Linked DNA regions of Homo sapiens: regions 1, 2, 3, 4, 5 and 7 are each linked to region 6. The links are contacts of gene promoters, found by promoter capture Hi-C in blood cells and fetal thymus (Javierre and others, 2016). All regions are on one chromosome and are shown on one strand. Each heading gives the region's core, a stretch centred on a gene start or on the middle of the fragment in contact. The rest is flanking DNA. Distances are from core to core; before and after follow the strand shown. Region 1 overlaps VDAC2 (voltage dependent anion channel 2). Region 2 overlaps ADK (adenosine kinase). Region 3 overlaps ADK (adenosine kinase). Region 4 overlaps ADK (adenosine kinase). Region 5 overlaps ADK (adenosine kinase). Region 6 holds the start of KAT6B (lysine acetyltransferase 6B). Region 7 overlaps ADK (adenosine kinase).

Region 1 (3,224 bases), core at 372-2,871, 390 kb before region 6:
GGTTGAGGCAGGAGAATTGTTTGAACCCGGGAGGCGGATGTTGGAGTGAGCCGAGATCGCAAAAGAGCAAGACTCTGTCTGAACCAAAACAAAAAAAGAAAGAAAAAAGAAAAAGAAAAAAAAACCCAACCACAAAACACCATACATTTTAGGCAATCCTATCAAGTCAGCATCTCACACATCAAAATAATTAAGTAAAATGAATGTACTGGTAGCAGTCTGCCAATATATAATGCCTCTTGTAAAAATACAAAGCACATTAAACCCCATATAAAATGAACATTTACTCTCTCAGCACCAAAGGTCAGACTAACAGTCTTCTACTATAAACTTTCAAGGGGCACCCTAGAAATGACCAAGAATGATTTTGTTTTTAAATGTTATGAGAAATCCTTTAGGGTGCACCCAGATCAATAAGATGACAGACATCAAAATCATCCTCTGAGGGCCCACATCACAGTATCCTATGAAAGAAATACTTACACATTAGTGTGTAGCTGGAAGTCCCCAGTCCTGTAGCCCACTGCAAAGTTATTCCTTGTCAGCTTTGATTTGGCACTGTCAAAGGTCATCTGGTAGCCAGCAAGCCAGCCCTCATAACCAAAGACAGCTGAACCATGGATTGCAGGTCCAGCAAAATCAAAGTCAACATCACAACCAAGGTTTATACACTCCCTCTTGTAAGAAGACTTGATTTTACCACTTTTCTTTCTGGAAAAAGAACAAACTGATGTCATTGGGAAAAATTTACACACACTTCTGCACAAGAGAGCACAAAACAGACTTAAATAAACTGCAGTATGACCAGGGAGTAAAAATCAGCAATACAATAACAGGGAGTAAAAAAGTCAGCTCAATGAACTACAAGACAAGGACACATGAAGCAACTGGACAGCCATCTAGGAAAACTGCTTTGCAGAACAAACAATCAGTCACAAAAGCCTGTTAGAAACACATTAGTTGCCCAAGTTAGTGCAACAACAAAGAGGCAAATATTTGAAGGCAAGCCAATGATAGCAACCATAGTATTCTAAAAGCAGATATGGGCCAGGCATGGTGGCTCCCGCCTGTAATCTCAGCACTTTGGGAGGCTGAGGCGGGCGGATCACCTGAGGTCAGGAGTTTAAGATCAGCCTGGCCAGCATGGTGAAATCCCGTCTCTACTAAAAATACAAAAAAATTTAGCCAGGCACGGTGGCATATGCCTGTAATCCCAGCTACTCAGGAGGCTGAGGCAGGAGAATCGCTTCAACCCAGGAGGCAGAGGTTGCAGTGAGCCAAGATCGCACCATTGCACTCCAGCCTGGGTGACAGAGAATAAACAAACAGGCTGCGAGCGGTGGCTCACACCTGTAATCCCAGCACTTTGGGAGGCTGAGGTGGGCAGATCACGAGGTCAGGAGTTCAAGACCAGCCTGATCAACACGGTGAAACCCTGTCTCTACCAAAAATACAAAAATTAGGTGGGCGTGGTGGCACATGCCTGTGATCCCAGCTACTCAGGAGGCTGAGGCAGGAGAATCACTTAAACCCGGGAGGCAGAGGTTGCAGTGAGCCGAGATCGCGCCACTGCACTCCAGCCTGTGTGACAGAGTAAGACTCTGTCCCAAATGAAAATAAAATAAAATAAAATAAATACAATAAAATAAAATATGGAAAAAAAAAAAAAGGCTGGGCGTGGTGGCTCATGCCTGTAATCCCACCACTCTGGGAGGCCAAGGTGGGCAGATCACCTGAGGTCAGGAGTTCCAGGACAGCCTGGCCAACATGGCGAAACCCCGCCTCTACTAAAAATACAAAAATTAGCTGGGCGTGGTGGCACGCACCTGTAGTCCCAGCTACTCAGGGAGGCAGAGGCAGAAGAATCGCTTGAACCCAGGAAGCTGAGACTGCAGTGAGCCAAGATGATGCCACTGCACTCCAGCCTGGGTGACACAGCAAAGACTCCATCTCAAATAAATAAATAAAAGCAGATACAGAGATTTCACCACCACAAGGTAGCTTAATAAGCTATCAAACAGTAAATGTACACCTTTTCTAAATATACAAAAGAGAAATACTTTTAAATGTAATACAGATAAAAATGTCTGTGCTTACCCTGTGTTTGGTGAGAAGGTAGTATCAAATGTCAGTTTCAAACCTTGACAAATCTATTTTGAAAGAAAAGTAATTTGTTTTCTTTTTTTGAAATACAAAAATAAATTAATAAAATTAATACTAAAATTTTCAAAATGTTACCTGGTCTTCAATTGCGATTTCTGTTCCCAGAGTGTTATCAGTGTTCCACTTTTCTGTGAAAGTCAGACCATACTCACACCACTTGTATTTGGTCTCCAAGGTCCCAGTAACTTTACCAGTGTCTGTATTAGATGAACCGGACGTTGAAAATTCCTAACAAGACAATCAATAACTTCATGAACATTCTCATAAGCCTAGAATTCATCACTGCCTTACACACGCACACACACACAAACCCCCTGAAACATTTGGTAAATTCATGAATCCTTTTTCTAGCTTCCTAAACACTCGTATCCTTCTGCACTGTGCTACTCTCTAAGCATATATAAGAGTGACAAATAAGCCTTTGAGCAACTGACTGCCACTTTACATACACAGCTGACACTTCCAATCAATCACAAGTTAACCTGTAGTGAATTCTCAAGTGAACAAACTGTACACCTTTTTTTTTTTTTGAGACAGAGTCCCGCTCTATCGCCAGGCTGGAGTGCAGTGGCGTGATCTCGGCATACTGCAACCTCCGCCTTCCAGGTTCAAGTGATTCTCCTGCCTCAGCCTTCCAAGTAGCTGGGATTACAGGTGCCCGCCACCACACCCAGCTGATTTTTGTATTTTTAGTACAGATGGAGTTTCACCATGTTGGTCAGGCTGGTCTCCAACTCCTGACCTCAGGTGATCCACCCACCTCGGCCTCCCAAAGTGTTGGGATTACAAACGTAAGCCACCACCCCAGCTAACTGTACATCTTTTAAGGAAGGTTTTGCTAAGGTGATTTTATTTGGGATTCAAAAATCAATGGGGGACTGAGTGTGGTGGCTCATGCCTGTGATCCCAGCACTTAGATACCAGCCTGGGCAACATAGCAAGACCATGTCTCTACAAAAATTAAGAAACCAGCTCAGCGTGGTGGTGTGCGCCTGTAGTCCCAGCTACTCAGGAGGCAGAGGTGGGAGGACTGCTTGAGCCTGGGAGGTCCAGGCTGCAGT
Region 2 (3,145 bases), core at 106-2,605, 440 kb after region 6:
TTAATCTGTCTTTTGTTACAAGAATCTTACAGCAGAGAACTTAGAAGGAAAATATTTTTCCTCCCTCACAACTACAAATAGGAATTAGGGGATATATGAGGCTTACGTGGGATAGCTAATTTTCAGAAGAAGATGAATGGCAGAGAGGCCGAGAAAGAGAGAGAGAGAGAGAGACAGAGACAGAGACAGAGACAGACAGACTGACTACTGGAATCAGAAAACTAAAAGTTCAGTATTCCAAAAAGTCTTAGAATCAAAATGCTTATAATCTCTTACTCAAATCTGTATTCTAAAGATATAGTATTTCCTAAAGTACAGAATAAAAGTATGCTGCATATACTCTATCTAGAGGTATCATTAACAATATAACCAGTAATACAGGTTAAAGGTTCAGCATAGAATCTGGCATAAGGTTGGCAGAAAGTAAATTTTAATTATTATTATTATTATTACTGTTGTAATTATTGTAGCAGTATCACTAATACTATTGTTATTGTTACTTCTAAGTCAAATTGTTATATATCTAGAATACTAAGAAGGAGTATGAATCTTATTTTCTAAGCTTTGTTAGTCTGCTTGAAGTCCAGGGGCCCCTATCATTGCAGGGTATGTGTGAGAGGAGGGGGGGAAAATCCAATAAACATCCTGAAATTGTAAGGAAACTTTGCTGTGTTTTTCAAGAGAGGATTCACAGATTTCATTAGGTGACTAACACGGTCTAGGCCACCTACACCAAGGGGAAGTGAGGGAAGAGTGTAGGCAGAACCCAGATATAGCCAGTGAGGAAGCCTTTTTCTTTTCAAGAAAAAGAGCAAAAAGGTTACAGAACTGAGTCAAATTCATCAAATTAAACAAGAAACTCATTTAATCCAAAGCTATTTACCAAAATTTTAAAATACTGTATCTTATAATTTTAAAAAAATTGTGTTACTGAAACTTTCACTCAATTTCTTAAGATTAACAAAAATGGATTACAAAATAGCATGGATTTATCTCCAAAGGTCTCCAAAACTAGGGATAAAAAAATAACACAGCACCTGGTATGGTGTTACAATAGGTGTCAAGTTTTAATTCAATGTGACTTTCATCAGAACAAAAGAATAGGCTGTATATAAAATAAGAAAGAAAAACCACCAAGGAAGTTTATTGTGGTAAATTAAAACCAGGACAAAACGGTGAGAAAGGGCCAGGTGCGGTGGCTCACACCTGCAATCCCAGCATTTTGGGAGGCTGAGGCCGGCAGATGGCTTGAGCTCAGAAGTTCGAGACCAGCCTAGGCAATGTGGTAAAACCCCATCTCTAGAAAAAATACAAAAATTAGCCAGGCATGGTGGTGTGCACCTGTAGTTCTAGCTACTCAGGAGGCTGAGGTGAGAGGATCGCCTGAGCCTGGGAGGTAGAGGCTGCAGTGAGCCAAGATTACATCACTTGCACTCCAGCCTGAGTGACAGAGTGAGACCATGTCTCGAGAAAAGAAAAAGGAAGGTGAGGAAAGGAAGAAACCTTTAGAGAAACACCACAGTGATCTTTAGACATAAGAATGTCACTCAAATGCATCTGCCCAGAAATTCTACAAAATCCACAGAGAAGCATGCCAACTAATAACCAAAGAATAAGAAAAGAATTGAGAAAATCCTTCTCCTTTACTTTTTCTAGTATACACTTTATAAAAAGCAAAATCCCTCAAGGCAGTAAACATCTGCCCAACAACACTTAACAGCAGCAACATCAAAAACGTAAGGCAAAGGTCAAGTCAAAGTTTATTGACAATGATGAACTATGACAGCCTCTATTAAATTACCCCTTCCTTCAAGGTGTATGTGATCAAAGCAGCAAAGATATTTTCACTCAGTCACATAACAAGCCATTTGCTGAGATTGAAACATCTGGTCAATATCTCCTAACACTGCAATTTCATGCACAGTTAGCATTAGGGCACATTTCTTCTACTCTTCTTACAGGGTCCATAAGGGTGGCACATATGGCTGATCATTTCATTCAAAAAGGATTCAATTCAAGGCATTACACACAATCGTCTGTGCTTTATGGTGTTTTAAGTCTACCTGCCACAGTTTTCCATCATCATTGCTGACTGCTGTTCTCTTCCACTATAAAAGCCTGCAAATATGACAAAGCACTTAAAGCTTAACAGCTTTCCTCTACCTGAGTTAGTAAGCATTTAAGGCAAAGGAATCTATAAAGTGGCAGGTCATTTTCTATTGTCAAGAACTCCCAATACATGAAACTATTTACCATTTTATTTACCATTTAGCAAAAATCTAATACAGATTAGAAAAGTAATTTTTAATGTCAAATCAAATACTTAACTTTCTGCTTGACAGATCTACGAAAGTACACTCTTTTGGCTATGATTTTAAGTTATAATAAACAATTAGAAAACAATATCATAAAACATTTAAAAATTTAATTTTAACATATATTAACAGATTTTTTTTAACTTGACAAAGAACAATTCTATACCAGAGAAAATCAGAATGTTACAATTTTATCAGTCCCATACACTGAAAATTTTCCACATGAAATTCATGCATTTGTTGTCATGGTAACAGAGCCCTTTCTTAAACACTTACAGTAGTAAACTTGAACTCACACCATAGATTTCTCTTTTTCCCTTTCTTCCTTTAGTATAATACCTTCAAAAGAAAAACAGGGTGAGGGTGCGGGACAACTTTAAAGCTATTGTTTCATATTTCCTTTGACACATTTCCCTGACAGGTAGTATGACTATATGAGTATAATTATTTTCTGAAATTTAAGATTTTGCCTAGAAGCTAATAGCTAAATAAAAAAATGTGTTTTTTTTTGAGACAGGGTCTCACTCTGTCGCCCAGGCTGGAGTGCAGTGGCACGATCTCGATTCACTGCAACCTCTGCCTCCCAGGTTCAAGCGATTGTCCTGCCTCAGCCTCCCAAGTAGCTGGGACTACAGGTGCATGCCACCACACCCAGCTAATTTTTTGCATTTTTAGTAGAGATGGGGTTTTACCATGTTAACCAGGATGGTCTCAATCTCCTGACCTTGTGATCCGCCCGTCTCAGCCTCCCCAAAGTGCTGGGATTACAGATGTGAGCCACTGCGCCCGGAGAAGAACTATTCTTCTCATGATAAAGAAAAACAACCACC
Region 3 (3,048 bases), core at 28-2,527, 510 kb after region 6:
AGAGAGAAAGGAAAGGAGAGAGACAAGGAAAGGAGAGAGGGAGAAAAGGGAGGAAAGGAAAAAATGAAATACTGATTTTTCTTTAAAGAATCTGATCTAAGTTATAATAATTTCACAAACACATCAAAAATATAATTGAGGACAGCAAGCCACTGCTTCCTTCATCTTATTTTAGCTATGAAAACTTAACAACCTAATTTGAAAAGGAAAGAGAACAGAAAGGCAAAGAGGAGTATTAATTCATATTTAAACTTTAAAAACTATAATGAGGTATCACAATTTGAACAGTCAACCTTATTCGTAGGGCCTGTGTTACTTAAAATTATTCATTAATCATAAAATTGGCAGAATTAATACTTACTACTTTCTTCAATGACACAAAGAATTGACGAGACGGTGTTGCATCACCATCTGCCACATCCTGCTATAATTATAAATACAGTTGTGCTACTGACATTTCTACAACTGCTCCAGGTGAAAGCATTTGAACACAGAATTCTCTTTGATCACTTCATTGTCATTTCTTCTTTTTAAATTTACATCTGGACTGTTCCGATGCACAGAAGTATGTCTCATAAAAAACCTTTTAACCTCTAACTAGCTTTTCTAGGTAAAATAGGTCACAAGAGATAATCAGATTTTTTTAATACAGAAAAACTTTAAAGATTAACTTTTTTCAAAAAAGGATTCAAAATAGATAAACAACATGAGTCCTTTGATTTACATCAGTTTTAACTTCTAAATACTGTAACTCAATTAGTAATGTTACACTAATTGGTAGTTCTTGAAATATCAGCTTTACAATTTTGAGTTCAATGTTTCTATTTCATTCAAACATAATTCCTAAAACTTCTTTTGTTTAGTGTTTTTAGAAACTCATTTTACATAGAATTTTGGAAAGCTTTAAAATACAATTATGAACACTAGTTTATTATGTGATGTTTTACATCAAGAAAACACTTAAAAGCATGCCCCGAGATGTATACAACATAAACACACTGGCATTTAGGCAGTCCTCTTAAATTTTAATTAAAAATGAAACAACATGGTTAAAATTTTACTGGAAGTTAAATACAAATATGGAGGCTTATCTAATTGGAAGAGACATGAAAAACTGGAAGATTGAATGTAAGTCAATAATTATAAAAGCAGATTAGAAATTATAAGACAGAAATAAGGATCTGCTAATTTGAGAAGAGACCAAGCTAATGTCTTGAGGATCATTTGAGCCCAGGAGTTCAAGACCAGCCCGGTTAATATGGCAAAACCCAATCTCTACAAAAAAGTTAAAAATAAGGTGGGTGTGGTGGTGTGCACCTATAGTCCCAACTACTCAGGAGGCTGAGGCAGGAGAATTCCTTGAGCCCAGGAGGTCAAGGATGCAGTGAGCTGTGATCGCACCACTGCACTCCAGCCTGGGTGACAGAGCAAGACTCTGCCTCAAATTAAAAAAAGAAAAAAAAATCCATATAGCCTCAATGTTATAATAATTACAGGAAAAAAAATGATTCAAATGATTACCTGCTTATATTCCAGTTAACAAAGGATAAGATGGTATTTAAAATTTTTGAGATGCCTAGAATATACCCCAAGATGGCATTTTTAAAATAAATTTAAAAATACTATAGGTAAGTTAAATTGCAGGAAGCTTAAAAACAAGCGAACTTACAACTTAAATAGAAATACCTCACGAAGCTCACCATCAGGCTTCTGAAAAATTCAATGAGTCACATAATACTATGAATCTCCAAGGAACAAAAAGGTATCTAGGCACCAAGGAAAACTGTCATCTCTGGGAAGCATGAATGAAAGAGTCCATTTACTGATAACTGTATTTAAAGTGATGCATATTCGACACTCTCTCTGACAACCTACAATTACTCCCAAATTGAAGAAGACAGTAAGAAGTGAAGAAAGCATGTGAAACACTACTCAAAATCTCTAACATTTAGAGAAGTAAAAATTGAAGTTTTCTCAGGATGAGAGAAAAATCTCCGGTAAAAAAAGCAAGCTGAGGTTACTAGTTAAAACAGTGGGGTTCTATTTCTGCTTTGCTTACTCACCATGGTGTTTTTTTCTATCTTATTTAATCAGAATCCTTATCACTAAACAATCACCACAGACCAACATATTAATTATGAGAATGCCAGAAGGAAAACAAAGAGAAAATAAAAGAAAAAAATTTTTGAAGATATAATGGTCCAAAACTTCCTGACTTTCATAAAATGAATGAATCTACACATCCAAGCATGAACTTGAAGCATGAATTTAATAAGCTCTAAACATGATAAACACAAAAAGATTCACACCAAGACACATTATAGTCAAACTGCTGAAAGACAAAGACAAGGAAAGAATTTTGAAATCAGTGAGAGAAAAGCAACTGGTCACAAGTCAGGATTCTCAGTAAGAATAAGAACTAATTCTCATCAGAAACCATGTAGGCCAAAAAGCAGTGAGTTGACATATTTAACATACTAAAAGAAAAGCACCGTTAACCAAGAATTCTATATCCAACAAAACTATCCTATAATAAAGGGGCTATTTAAGACATTCCCAGATAAACACAAGCTAAGACAGTTTGTTAACAATAGACCTGCCCTACACAAAATGCTAAAGAGAGTCCTTCAGGCTGAAATGAAAGGACATTTGATAGTAACCAGAAGCCATATGAAGAAGTAAAGAACTCTGGTAAAAGTAGCTACATAGTAAATATAAATGCCACTATCACTGAACTTTTGGTTTGTAATTCCTTTTATTTTTATATGATTTAAAAGACAAATGAATAAAAGAATAGTTACAAATCTATGTTAATGGGCATGCAATATATAAAGACGTAATCAATGAGCGTAATAATATATAAGAAGAGGATGGAGATGTAAAGGAGCAGAGTGTTTGTATATTATTGAAACTACATTGGTATTATTCAAATTAGGTTGTTATGAGTTTAGAATGTTCATTGTAATTCAAATGGTAAATAATAAAAGTAACTAAAACATATACAGGAAAGAAAAGGAAGAAGGTATCAAAAAAGAACACTACCAAAAA
Region 4 (3,201 bases), core at 74-2,573, 400 kb after region 6:
TTGCCCAGGCTGGAGCACAGTGGCACAATCTAGGCTCACTGCAACCTCCGCCTCCCAGGTTCAAGCAATTATCGTGCCTCAGCCTCCCGAGCAACTGAGATTACAGGTGCCAGCTACCACACCTGGCTAATTTTCGTAGTTTTAGTGGAGATAAGATTTCACCATGTTGGGCATGCTGGTCTCAAACTCCTGACCTCAAGTGATCTGCCCACCTCGGCCTCCCAAAGTGTTGGGATTACAGGCATGAGCCACCATGCCCGGCCTCAGATGCATTTAAAGACTGATTTATTCAAGTCCCCTTATCCTGATTCTGCAGTCGCCATTACATTCCAATGCAAGTTTGCCTAAAGAAACAGATATGCGGATTAAGCAGACACAAACATTTGGGCCGATGTGATAACTACATTTCCTACTATAAATAAATAAGGCAATCTATTGGTTTCTGTAATCATTCTCTTGGAACCTGGTAAATGGAATCATTCTTGCCTCCTTTCCTTTTCTCATATCCAACTGTCAGCCCATCAGAAAAATTTTTGTGAGCTCTTCTTCAAAACATATCTAGAATCTGAACCATCTTTAACACTTCCACCATAAGTCTAAGCTACCATCATCTCTCACATGGGCAGCCTCTTTTTTTTTTTTTTTTTTTTTTTTTGAGACGGAGTCTCGCTCTGTCGCCCAGGCTGGAGTGCAGTGGCGGGATCTCGGCTCACTGCAAGCTCCGATGGGCAGCCTCTTAATAGTTCCCCATGCTTCAACACTTGCCCAACCACCATCTATTTTCTATATAGCAGCCACATCTTATAGACCTGGCTCATAGCTGCCTTGTAGAACTCATCTCCTTCCAGCCGCCTTGCTCTGTCTCAAACACTCTAGGCATATTTCCTTCTCAAGGCCTCTGTGCTTGTTCCCTCTGCTTGAAATGTGCTTTCCCCAAACAGCTGTATGGCTTTTTTCTTCACTTCCTTCAGGCCTCTTCTGAATGTCAACTTAACCATCAAGTCATTCTCTACTATTTATTCCCTACTATATATTGAGAGGTGGTAGAATGTAAGAATTAAAAGCTTAGAGGCAGTCTAAAGTAATGAAAATTGATGTTCCTTTTAAAAAATAATTTTTTATTTTTATAAAATGAGATGGGGTCTTGCTACGTTGACCAGGCTGGTCATGAACTTCTGGCCTCAAGCAATTCTCTCATCTCGGCCTCCTAAAATGCTGGGATTACAGGTGTGAGCCATTACGCCCAGCCAAAAATTGGTGTTCATACAAAAACTTATGTGCAAATATTCACAGCAGCTTTATCTGTAATAGCTCCAAACTGGAAACAACCAAGATGTCTTTCAATAGGTGAACAGAGGGAAGTGGGTGGGCAACATGAAGGATCATTGTGGTGACAGATATATTTGGAGCCTTGACTATATCAGTGTCAATATGATGGTTATGATATGGTTCTATAGTTTTGTAAGAAGTTACCTCGAGAAACTGAGTAAAAAGTACATGAGATCTCTCTGTATTATATTACAACTGCATGTGAATCTACAAATTATGTCAAAATAAAAAAAATTAATTAAAAAAAGCTTGGACACAAGCCAGTCTGATGGATTCAAAATCCTGGGTCTGCTACTTTTAGCTGTGAAACCTGGAGAAAGTTAACACCTCCGTGCCTCTGTTTCTTCATCAATAAAATAGAGGTAATAATAGTACCAATCTAATAAGGTTGTTTGAGGTAAAGGAATTACTATATGTAAAGATCTTAGAATGGTATGTGGCCCAGAGTAAGTATCATATGAGTATTAGCTACTATTGTTAATAATTTTAGAGAATAATGTCTACTATATTGTCTATTTTAACATATGCTCCCGATTCACAGTATAACACTATCTGGTACATAATAGGCACTGGATAAATATTTGTTGAATGAAAACATGAAAGCTCCTGATAGATGAATTTGCTTTTAGTGTACTGACAGAATCACTCTTCTGGATATCCAAGTTTGAGAGTATCACTAGTCAAACATTTTTTCCTTTTATATTTGTATAACTGATTATGGTATACCATAAACATTTTCTATGTTAGACAGTTCCTGCTCCTCTTCTGGTCATGAAAACTTTCTTAGCTCAAAGTCTATTAATATTATACCTAACTTGATTGAAAGAACTGATAGATATTTTTTAAATCTCTTTCTTCCCTACTCCCACAACAGATATGAATTATGGTAATAAGACCACTTGACTAAAGAATATGCAAGTGTCTGCAAATAATTCTAACCATCTTTTTCATGCATATAAAAATTGCTCAGAATTAATTCTTAAAATTGGGATAGTTTGTTGCAAGTTATGACTTCACTGTATTAAACTACTATCATGTGTTGAATCTCAAATTGATCCTAGGTAACATAATTTAATGTTGTAAGAGACATAAAGTCAATGCAATAATGCATTTCATAATTAGCACAAAATCAGTTCCCTGACTGAATAGTTTGAATAATATTCAACTAAGAAGATTTGCCAAGTGTCTTTTATGACTCTCCACTATTAGTCTACTTTAAGATGTTTTTCCCTGCAAGTTCTCTGTAACTTTAGGACAATTTATCTAAACTTTTCCATTGGCAATCATTTCAATGTACAAAAAGTTCCAAAAATAAAAACACAGAAAATACCTTTATCCATTTTCATCTGTTGTCACATTTTTACCTCATTTTCTTTATCATCTATGTTCAGTTGTATTCTTTCTTTTTCTGTATGTATGCATAATATTCTCTTGTGATTGAGTTGAGATGCATTCTGGGCCAGAAACTGCATAGATGATGTTGTGTACTTCTCAGGGACAGATAAACACATAAGGAGGCAAACAATGTTCATTTGACTCTCACTGGAGGTGATACTTGTGATCACCCTGTCAATGTGTTGTCTGATTTCTCCACTGCATTGTTGCTGTTTTTCTCTTCTCCCATACAACATTTCAAGACCATGTAAATATTCTGTTCTTCATCAACATGTCTGTCCTCTTAGATGTTACAACCATTGATGATTTTTGCCTGATCTAATCTTTAACATGATGACTGCAAAATGAGGTTTCCTTGTTTTGTTTTTTCCCAACTCTAGCACAACCTCCACATTTGCTGGTCAACTTTCAGCATGCCACTGTAAGTAAAATATCTTCATTTTCTATCCATCCACCCATTAGTGATTGGAATGGTCT
Region 5 (3,156 bases), core at 51-2,550, 410 kb after region 6:
TTTTTTTTTGAGATGGAGTCTCACTCTGTCACCTAGGCAGGAGTGCAACCTCTGCCTCCCAGGTTCAAGCCATTCTCCTGCCTCAGCTTCTCAAGTGCTGGGATTACAGGCATGCGCCACCACGCCCGGCTAATTTTTGTATTTTTAGTAGAGAGGGGGTTTCACCATGTTGGCCAGGCTGGTCTCCAACTCCTGACCTCAAGTGATCTGCCCACCTCGGCCTCCCAAAATGCTGGGATTACAGGCGTGAGCCACCACGTCCAGCCTATAATCACACTCTTGTTTGAAAATTTATCCAGCAAAAATCAAAGATTCTCCCTACTAAGGTGGAAGTAACAACAGTAAATAATTTGTGTAACTCACTGAACATCAATAACATATGGAAAATGAAAAACATTAGAAACTGAACTCTAACACTAATGGTAAGAAATAGCATAATTAAGTCTGTTTTGGTATAAGCATACCTTATTTTATTGCACTTCACAGATACCTTTTTATTATTTTTTTTTACAAATCGAAGGTTTATGGCAAGCCTGCCTTGAGTATGGTGTCATTATTTTCCAACAGAATGTGCTCGCTTGGATCTCTGTCATATTTTGGTAATTCTTTCAATATTTCAAACTTTTATATCTTTTATAGTGATCACTGATCTATGATATTATTATTGTAATTGTTTTGGGATGCCACAAACCACACCCATAGAAGATGGTGAACTTAACTGATAAATGCTGTGTTTTCACTGCTCTACCAGCTGGCCATTACCCCATCTCTCTACCTCTCCTAAGGCCTCCCTATTTCTTGAGACACAACAATAGTGACATTAGGCCAATTAATAATCCTACAGTGGTCTCTAAGTGTTCAAGTGAAAGGAGGAGTTGCATGTCTCTCACTTTAAGTCAAAAGCTAGAAATGATTGAGTTTAGTGAGGAAGGCATATCGAAAGGTGAGACAGGCTGAAAGTTTGACCTCTCACAACAAACAGGCAAGTTCTCAATGCAAAGAAAAAGTTCTTGAAGAAAATTAAAAGTGCTACTCCAGTGAACGCATGAATAAGAGAGTGAAATAAGCTTATTGCTGACATGGAGAAAGTTTTACTGGTCTGTATAGAACATCAAACCAGCATAGCATTCTCTTAGGTCAAAGCTTAATCCCGAGCACAACCTTAACTCTTTTCAATTCTGTTAAAGCTGAGAGGTGAGGATGCTGTGCAAGAAAAGTCTGAAGCTAAGAGAGGCTAATTTGTGAGGTTGAAAGAAAGAAGCAATCTCCATATCATAAAAGTGCAAGGTAAAATAGCAGGTGCTGAAGAGTTACCCAGATCTTGCCAACATCATTGATGAAGGTGGCTGCACTGAACAACAGGTTTTCAACATAGACAAAAGAGTCTTCTACTGGCAGAAGATGCTATTGAAGACTTTTACAGCTAAAAAGAAGTAAATGCTTGGCTTCGAAGCTTCAAAGGATAGGACGACTCTTTTTTTTTTAGGGGCTAATGCAGCTGGTGACTTTCAGTTGAAGTCAATGCTCATTTACCATTCTAAAAATCCTAGAGCCCTTAAGAGTTATGTTAAATCTGCTCTGCCTGTGTTCTATAAATGAAATAACAAAGCCTGGATGAACACATACCTGTTTGAGTATGGTATGCTGAATTTTTTTTTTTTTGGGGACAGTTTCACTCTTGTCACCCAGGCTGGAGTGCAATGGCGCAATCTTGGCTCACCGCAACCTCCGCCTCCAGGGTTCAAGCAATTCTCCTGCTTCAGCCTCCTGAGTAGCTGGGATTACAGGTGTGCACCACCATGCCCAGCTCATTTTTGTATTATTAGTAGAGATGTGGTTTCACCATGTCGACCAGGCTGGTCTCGAATTCCTGACCTCAGGTGATCCTCCCGCCTTGGCCTCCTAAAGTGCTGGGATTACAGGCATAAGCCACTGTGCCCAGCTGGTATACTGAATATTTTAAGCCCACTGTTGAGATCTACTGCTCAGAAAAAAAGATTCCCTTTAAAATATTACTGCTCATTAACAATGCATCTGGTAACCCAAGGGCTCTGATGGAGACGTATAAGAAGATGAATGTTGTTTTCACGGCTGCTAAAACAACATTCATTCTGCAGCCCATGGATCAATGAGTAATTTTGACTTTCAAATCTTATTTAAGTAATATATTTCATAAGGCTATAGCTGCCATAGTGACTCATCTGATGGGTTTGGGCAGAGTAAATTGAAAACCTCCTGAAAATAATTCATCATTCCAGTTGTCATTAAGAACATTCATGGGCTGGGCATGGTGGCTCACACCTGCAATCCCAGCGCTTTGGGAGGCCGCAGTGGGAGGATCACTTAAGCCCAGCAGTTCGAGACCAGCCTGGCCAATATGGTGAGACCTCGTCTCTACAAAAATAAAATAAATGATGAGGTGGGAGGATTGCTTGAGCTTGCCTGGGAGATTGAGACTGCAATGTGCAGTGATTGTTACTGCACTTCCCTGCCTGAGTGACAGGAGTAAAACCCTGTTTAAAAAAAAAAGAACATTCACGATTCATGTGAGGTGGTCAAAATATTAACATTAATAGGAGTTTGGAATAAGTGGATTCCAACCCTCATGGATGACTTTGAGGGCTTCAAGACTTCAGTGGAAGAAGTCAATGCACATGTGATGGAAATAGCAAGAGAACTAGTATTAGAAGTGAAGCCTGAAGATAGGACTGAATTGCTGCAATCACATGATAAAACTTGAATGGATGAGAAATTGCTTCTTATAGATGAACACAGAGAGTGGTTTCTTGACATGGAATCTACTCCTGGTGAACACGCTATGAATGCTGTTGAAATGACAACGAAAAATTCAGAATACTGCATAAACATAACTGTTAAAGCAACAACAGAGTTAGAGAGGGCTGACTCCAATTTCAAAGAAGTTCTACTGTAGGTAAATGCTATCAAACAACATTGTATGCTACAGAGAAATCTTTTATGAAAGAAGAGTCAATTGATGTGGCAAACTTCATTGCTGTCTTATTTTAAGAAATCGTCACAGCTACCCCAACCTTCAGAAGCCACCACTCTGAGCAGTCAGCAGCCATCAACACTGGTGCAAGACCCTCCAACAGCAAAAAGATTATTACTCGCTAAAGGCTCAGATGATCACTAGCA
Region 6 (2,945 bases), core at 360-2,859:
TTCTACCAATTACAGGGCTTAAACTCCTTCATGGGGCATAGGACACCATTTGTAATCTAACCCCTCCTCTGCCTTTGCCTGGTCATCTCCTACCACTCCCTGCACTCTGCCCACAGCAAAGTACTAGCAAATTCAAAGCTATGCAAAATGTCCTATCCCAAGGTATGGTGCATGTCTCTTCCTGGGATACCCTGCTGCCGGACACTCCCTTGAAGACTCCAGATCAAGTTTAACATAATGAATCCAGCGTATCACGGGTCGCCATAGCTCACGTCTGTAATCCCATCAGTCAGGCAGAGGTGGGCAGATCACTTGAGGCCAGGAGTTCGAGACCAGCCTGGGCAACATAGTGAGACCCTTTTCTCATTTTTATAAAAAATAATAAATACAGCCTATCAAACAACTTGTCTCCCAAACTAACACCTTTCTCTGCCCCATCCTCACCCCTGGCACAGTCCACCAAATCACATTCACCGAAAATTACTGTACAGCTCCACCCACTTTCTTCACACCTGCCGCCTTGTCCCACCCCTACCAATCCCTTGTCCCCAGGAGATTTTCTGCCACAGATTTTGCAAGTTCTAAGCAGCCTCTCTCCCCTTCCTTCATATTTAAGTTTGCTCTGCTGTCTTAGCATCATCTTTCAGAAACTCTCCCAAGCACAACCATCCCATCCTTCCACGTTTTTAAAAAATACTTCATACCCCAAAGCTAGCAAACCTCCTTCTTATTCCAACATGCGATCCACCCAGATACCTCTTTCCCATCACTGCAATCGTACCTGCTCCTCACATGCGCCTCAATGCCTCCCCAAACCCCTCAACGCCTCCCCAAACCCAACACTCTGCACCGCTTCAACTCTACTCCACATCCACCACACCCAAACCCACCTACTCTGCGCCCAGACAACTGCAATCTCGCCTTCGGTATCATCTCACCTGCCCTCACACACCCCTCGGTCCGCCTTCCACTTCTCTCAAATTGCATCCCTCCCTAACTCTCCCTCTGCACCTGCTTCTACACCTTCAGCTTCTCCTCCCACCCAACCCTCACTAGTCTTCCTCACACCCTCGCCGGCCCCCCACCGCTCCTACCAGTTCACTCCCACTCAGAAATTCCCTCTCAGCCCCCGCCTTCCGACTCCCCGAACCCCGCCCCCACCCGATCCCGCCCCGCCCCCCTCCGCCCTCGAGCCCCGCCCCCTTGCCCTAGAGCCCTGCCGAGGGGCGGGGCCTGTCCCTCCTCCCCTTTCCCCCGCCCCCTACCGTCACGCTCAGGGGCAGCCTGACCCCGAGCGGCCCCGCGGTGACCCTCGCGCAGAGGCCTGTGGGAGGGGCGTCGCAAGCCCCTGAATCCCCCCCCGTCTGTTCCCCCCTCCCGCCCAGTCTCCTCCCCCTGGGAACGCGCGGGGTGGGTGACAGACCTGGCTGCGCGCCACCGCCACCGCGCCTGCCGGGGGCGCTGCCGCTGCCTGAGAAACTGCGGCTGCCGCCTGGAGGAGGTGCCGTCGCCTCCGCCACCGCTGCCGCCGCCGCCAGGGGTAGGAGCTAAGCCGCCGCCATTTTGTGTCCCCCTGTTGTTGTCGTTGACATGAATCCGACATGACACTGATTACAGCCCAATGGAGTCTCATTAAACCCGAGTCGCGGTCCCGCCCCGCCGCTGCTCCATTGGAGGAGACCAAAGACACTTAAGGCCACCCGTTGGCCTACGGGTCTGTCTGTCACCCACTCACTAACCACTCTGCAGCCCATTGGGGCAGGTTCCTGCCGGTCATCTCGCTTCCACATAAACACACCCCTCGACCCATCATCCCCCCCTCCGGCACCACCCCGGGGGAGGGTCCACTGCCAATACCAATCAACAGACCGCTGGGTCCGCCTCTTCCGGGCACCTATTGGTCCAGCCCTTTTTCTCTCTCCTAGATACCGCGCCACCTCTACTTCCACCTACCCGCCCCCTCCACCTCTAGGAAAGGATTGGGTCTACTCGCAGCAGAGGAGCGTAGCCTTATTGGCTGCAGACGACGCCAATCAGGAGGCCTTTTCCCTCTCCCCTCCCCCACTCAACCCCAAACCCCCTAGCCCGCAGCTAAAGTTTGTGTGAGAGCTGATCGCTGGCGGCGGCCGCAGGATTTAGGGGTGGGCGCGGGCGGGCGCGCGCGGGCGGGCACGCGAAGTTAAAATTCGAGGTTCTCAGTCGCCAGCTCCTTCGGTGGAGTGTGCGGACGGGCGCGCCGCCCGGAGCGTTCCATCCCGCCCCCTCCTCCACCCTCTCTCCCGTCCCGTCCCGTCCCGGGCGACTACTCGCCCGCCCCCTGGCTCGCATCCTTCCCCCCCCAACACACCCCTACCCTGCCAGCCCCAGGCCGGGTGCAGGCAGAACGATGTCGCTGCAGCCTCCTCGCCATCCCATGCCTCGGGGGAGCAAGCCCCTACCCACCGGGCGTGCACCCCCCGGCTCCACACTCGCCCGTGTCTGCAAGCACGTGCACCGCTCGCCGCTGCCTCCGGCCACCCGGGTCCCCGGCTAACCTCGCCTGCAGCCCGGCCAATCGCTCGCTGCCCTTTGTTGCTGCAGCCTGGGTCTCCCCGCTGCCTTCCTCAGCCTCCGCCTCGTCCTTTGCCAGCCGCCCGGGTCCGCAGCGCCGCGCTCCCCCCGCCCGGGACCCACCGCCGCCGCCTCCTTCTCCTCCTCCGCCTCCTCCTCCTCGGCTCCGGGCTGCAGCGCACAGAGCCCGAGGCAGCGCCGCCCAGCCCCGCTCCCCCCGCGCCGCCCGCCAGCCCGCCCGGCCTGGCCGGGGGCGCAGCCCGGACCCCGCCCGCCCCAGTCTCCGCCCCGGGGGTACCTGCCTCCGCCCCGGGGGGCTCCTCTCGCCGCCCTCGGGGGAGGGCGGAGACGCTGGTGTCCGCGGGAGGATGGGGACGCCTGGGCCGTTTGGGGCG
Region 7 (3,323 bases), core at 357-2,856, 380 kb after region 6:
ATTCAGGGAAAATGCTTGAAACAACTTTAAGATGTTAAGATTTGAAAAAAACATTAAGATACCTTTGTTTCCTTTATAATCTTGGCAAAATACTAGGCACTAAACAGATTCTCAAAAATTTAAAATAAAAAGATATAATAGGCACAATACACAAAAATAATGACCAAAATGCCCTGAACTTTCTATTTCTTTTTTCAAAAAACTTTATCCCAAGATGGTTTTTTTGAGGTGACAACTTGACTAGGCTACAGACTCTAGTTATTCAATCAAATTCCAATCTAGGTGTTGCTATACAGGTATTTTTCAGATGTAATTAAAACTCCCAGTCAGTTGACTTCTATTACTGGAGTATCCTGGATAATCTGGAGGGGCCTGATTCAATCAGTTGAAAGTAAAAGCCTGCACGTTGTGCACATGTACCCTAAAACTTAAAGTATAATAATAATAAAATTTAAAAAGAAAAGCATGGCTTAAGTTTCCTTGACAGAGAGAATAAATTCCACCTATGAATGACAGCTTCTGCCCATGCCTAAGAAGTTCAAGGCTTTCTCCCCTTCCTGGTTGCCTGCCCTATGGTTTTGGACTACTTAGCCAGTCTCCACAATGACATAGGCCAATTCCTCAAAATCGATCAACCAACAAATAAATCTTATTCTCACTCTATCTTCCCTAATGGGTCTGTTTCTGTGGCTGAATCCTATTAATACAATCTCATTATTTCAAATTATACTAATACATTTGGAAAGAATGTGTGCCTCTGCTTTTTAATTTGAAAAGTGGGCATTTTTTTTTTTAAAAAAGGCAGTATACTATCTGTTATGGGATGAGAGGGAAAAAAAGAAAGCCAGTATATATTATTGTATGTGTGTAAATAACATGTATACACAAGTATACATCTTGTATATAAGCGAGAACTGGTATAAACCTAAATAGGAATTCCTAACAATTCTTGGCCTAAATGTCAGCTTTCAATTAAAGAAGCCCAGATGTAGAAAAAAGCAGTCTGTCAACATTTTACTTTAGTTTTTTGTGTAGCCAGAGTTCTTCATTAAGCATTGAGGAGTGTCATAAAGGAAAAAGAGAACATGGCTTAATGTAAAAGTCACTTATCTTCCTGGGGCAAGGTTAGAGTCTAGAAAGTCTACATAAAAGATGAAATTGCATGTAATAAATACTTATTATATACAAGATACTATATGTATATATGCGTATATATATACACATATATACATGCTGCTTCATTTAATCCTCATAACAATCTAATGAGGTAAAAATGATTCTTATTGCATAGATGGGAAAGTTGAGGCTTACAGTTGTCCAAGGTCATACGGCTAATAGGTGGCATAATCAGCACTGGGAACACTCCCATCCTTTTTAAGAGATGGAGTGGAGGGAAGTGTTCACTAGGTTGCCCCGGCTGGACTTGAACTCCTGGGCTCAAGAGACCCTCCCACTTCACCCTCCCAAGTAGCTGGGATTAAACCTAACTCTTATTTATTTTTTTGAGACAGAGTCTCACTCTGTTGCCTAGGCTGGAGTGCAGTGGCGTGATCTCGACTCACTGCAGCCTCTGCCTCCAGGGTTCAAGCAATTCTCCTGCCTCAACCTTCCAAATAGCTGAGATTACAGGCATGCATCACCACGTCTGCCATTTTTTGTATTTTTAGTAGAGATGCGGTTTCACCACATTGGCCAGACTGGTCTCGAACTCCTGACCTCAGGTGATCCACCCCCCTCAGCCTCCCAAAATGCTGGGATTACAGGCGTGATACACCACACCCAGCCAAACCTAAATCTTAAGCTCCAACTTTTTCTTTTGTACTTTGTACTCTTAGAGGGAAATGACTCCTTAACAGTATATACATTATTCATTGAGAATTTACTATGTGTCAGACCACTTTATTAAGCATTTTTTGGTGCTTTTTTAATTGACTTCTTATCATTTTTTGAGGTAAGTGCTATCATGATCTCCATTTTACAGATGAGAAAACTAAGATAGGAAATTGACAAAGAGTAGTAGATTATTAGCGAAGCCTTCAGAATTATCTTAACTCAGTACCCTGGTATTAGAGAGTAGTCTATAGTGAAGGGGATCAGAGTATGACACCCTCAAATATGCCACTTCAGCATAAGGATTATTTTGAACTACAGGCAATTAAAACAGCAAACATAGGAGGAGCTCTCTGCCCTCCCCTTTACTTCCTAAAAATAGGGCATAAATTTCCCTTTTGTAAAGGAAATTCATATTTGTAATGGCGTCCTCCTCTCCAGTACCAGGAAGAGAAGAAGCAGACTCTTCTCACTTGACTCTGCCTAATAAACCTTACTAAACAACCCTTATTTACCACTCATTCCTTAGTCACCTATCATTAATGCCCACCCTCACCCCACCAGAAGTCTAAACCCCCATTTTGTCTAGTCTCTTCTCCATACTTTATCACTCTTTCTTAAAATGATATGTAAGCCCCTTGGTCTCATTGGTTTTTTGGGGTTTTCAATTCTTTTCTGTGAGGCTTCTCACGTGCATACAAAATAATCCTTTTATCCTCCTAATTTTTTGTCAGTTTAATTTGCAAGCACCAACTACTGAACATAAGAGGGTAGAGGAAAAGTTTTTCCTCCTATAGTACCTGCTCTACGTAGTGGAGAGATGTTTAAGTAAATATAGCAAATAGTACAGCAGATATCAAAATATATTTGACAAAAACTATTACTGGAGAGTAGAAGATTTAAAATGCTTTGGGTAAAGCATTATAAAAACAAAACAACCCCCCAAAGCCTCCTAAGTGAAAATCAATGAATGAGAACCATGCAGTGATTTATAGACTAATAATATATTTTGGATTTTAAAATCAATGTTAACAGTTTGCTCAAAATCACTGTACTATCTAAATAGGAGGAAATACAATTGATGGAACTAGTTTACATGTCTTTTTAACATATTTCCAAGCTCTAAAACCAATAAGAAATGAGAATAGTTGAAGATGTTTGTCTCCTATATTTCATTCACTGTATGTACATGGGAATTATTAGCATAAAGGAATAAAATCAAATGTACAATTATCCACCTTCTCACTATTCTTTCAAATTAGTCTTATATCACAATACTTCTTAAAAGGATTTTATGGTTCCCAGCTGCTTATCGTATACAGTTTATACTCCTAAGCATGGAATGTAAGGTTCTTCTGACCCCATCCTATCTTCTTTCCTATCGTCGTCTCTCACTATACTTCCACAGGCAACCTAGTTTAGTATTTCACAATTTGATCCATAGGAGAGGTTAATAAGCTCTCTTTGAAAAATGGCTTGACTGGAAAATAGGT

The links. Contacts are between HindIII fragments. The CHiCAGO score rates a contact against its expected background, and 5 or more counts as called.
Region 1: a fragment that was not itself captured here is called in contact with the fragment with the promoter of KAT6B in region 6 in 1 of 17 cell types (neutrophils); the score reaches 11.8 in neutrophils.
Region 2: a contact is called between a fragment that was not itself captured here and the fragment with the promoter of KAT6B in region 6, in 8 of 17 cell types (total CD4 T cells, naive CD4 T cells, activated CD4 T cells and 5 more). The highest score is 12.0, in total CD4 T cells.
Region 3: a contact is called between a fragment that was not itself captured here and the fragment with the promoter of KAT6B in region 6, in 4 of 17 cell types (total CD8 T cells, M1 macrophages, total CD4 T cells and 1 more). The highest score is 7.0, in total CD8 T cells.
Region 4: a contact is called between a fragment that was not itself captured here and the fragment with the promoter of KAT6B in region 6, in 14 of 17 cell types (total CD4 T cells, total CD8 T cells, naive CD8 T cells and 11 more). The highest score is 15.9, in total CD4 T cells.
Region 5: a contact is called between a fragment that was not itself captured here and the fragment with the promoter of KAT6B in region 6, in 6 of 17 cell types (total CD4 T cells, naive CD8 T cells, total CD8 T cells and 3 more). The highest score is 9.6, in total CD4 T cells.
Region 7: a fragment that was not itself captured here is called in contact with the fragment with the promoter of KAT6B in region 6 in 2 of 17 cell types (naive CD4 T cells and total CD4 T cells); the score reaches 6.6 in naive CD4 T cells.

Annotation. Positions count from the first base shown.
Region 1 is chr10:75,218,230-75,221,453 of GRCh38, reverse strand. It overlaps VDAC2 (voltage dependent anion channel 2), which reads right to left. Exons shown (of 10, transcript NM_001391963.1): 5 at 2,239-2,391; 6 at 2,098-2,150; 7 at 484-711. Among named protein-coding and RNA genes, the nearest start is that of VDAC2, 9.0 kb to the right of the region's middle. The HindIII fragment of the contact is 7,145 bases long and covers 1-3,224 here.
Region 2 is chr10:74,380,438-74,383,582 of GRCh38, reverse strand. All of the region lies in intron 4 of ADK (adenosine kinase), which reads right to left. Among named protein-coding and RNA genes, the nearest start is that of ADK-AS1, 150 kb to the left of the region's middle. The HindIII fragment of the contact is 1,582 bases long and covers 565-2,146 here.
Region 3 is chr10:74,319,696-74,322,743 of GRCh38, reverse strand. The region is part of intron 4 of ADK (adenosine kinase); the gene reads right to left. Among named protein-coding and RNA genes, the nearest start is that of ADK, 170 kb to the right of the region's middle. The HindIII fragment of the contact is 747 bases long and covers 904-1,650 here.
Region 4 is chr10:74,428,521-74,431,721 of GRCh38, reverse strand. The region is part of intron 6 of ADK (adenosine kinase); the gene reads right to left. Among named protein-coding and RNA genes, the nearest start is that of ADK-AS1, 99 kb to the left of the region's middle. The HindIII fragment of the contact is 513 bases long and covers 1,067-1,579 here.
Region 5 is chr10:74,411,564-74,414,719 of GRCh38, reverse strand. The region is part of intron 6 of ADK (adenosine kinase); the gene reads right to left. Among named protein-coding and RNA genes, the nearest start is that of ADK-AS1, 120 kb to the left of the region's middle. The HindIII fragment of the contact is 310 bases long and covers 1,146-1,455 here.
Region 6 is chr10:74,825,264-74,828,208 of GRCh38, reverse strand. KAT6B (lysine acetyltransferase 6B) reads right to left here and starts at 1,609. Exons shown (of 18, transcript NM_012330.4): 1 at 1,424-1,609. RefSeq lists silencers at 1,144-1,543, 2,234-2,433, 2,544-2,643, 2,754-2,923 and enhancers at 1,759-2,530, 2,531-2,945. The HindIII fragment of the contact is 8,590 bases long and covers 1-2,945 here.
Region 7 is chr10:74,446,354-74,449,676 of GRCh38, reverse strand. All of the region lies in intron 6 of ADK (adenosine kinase), which reads right to left. Among named protein-coding and RNA genes, the nearest start is that of ADK-AS1, 81 kb to the left of the region's middle. The HindIII fragment of the contact is 8,727 bases long and covers 1-3,323 here.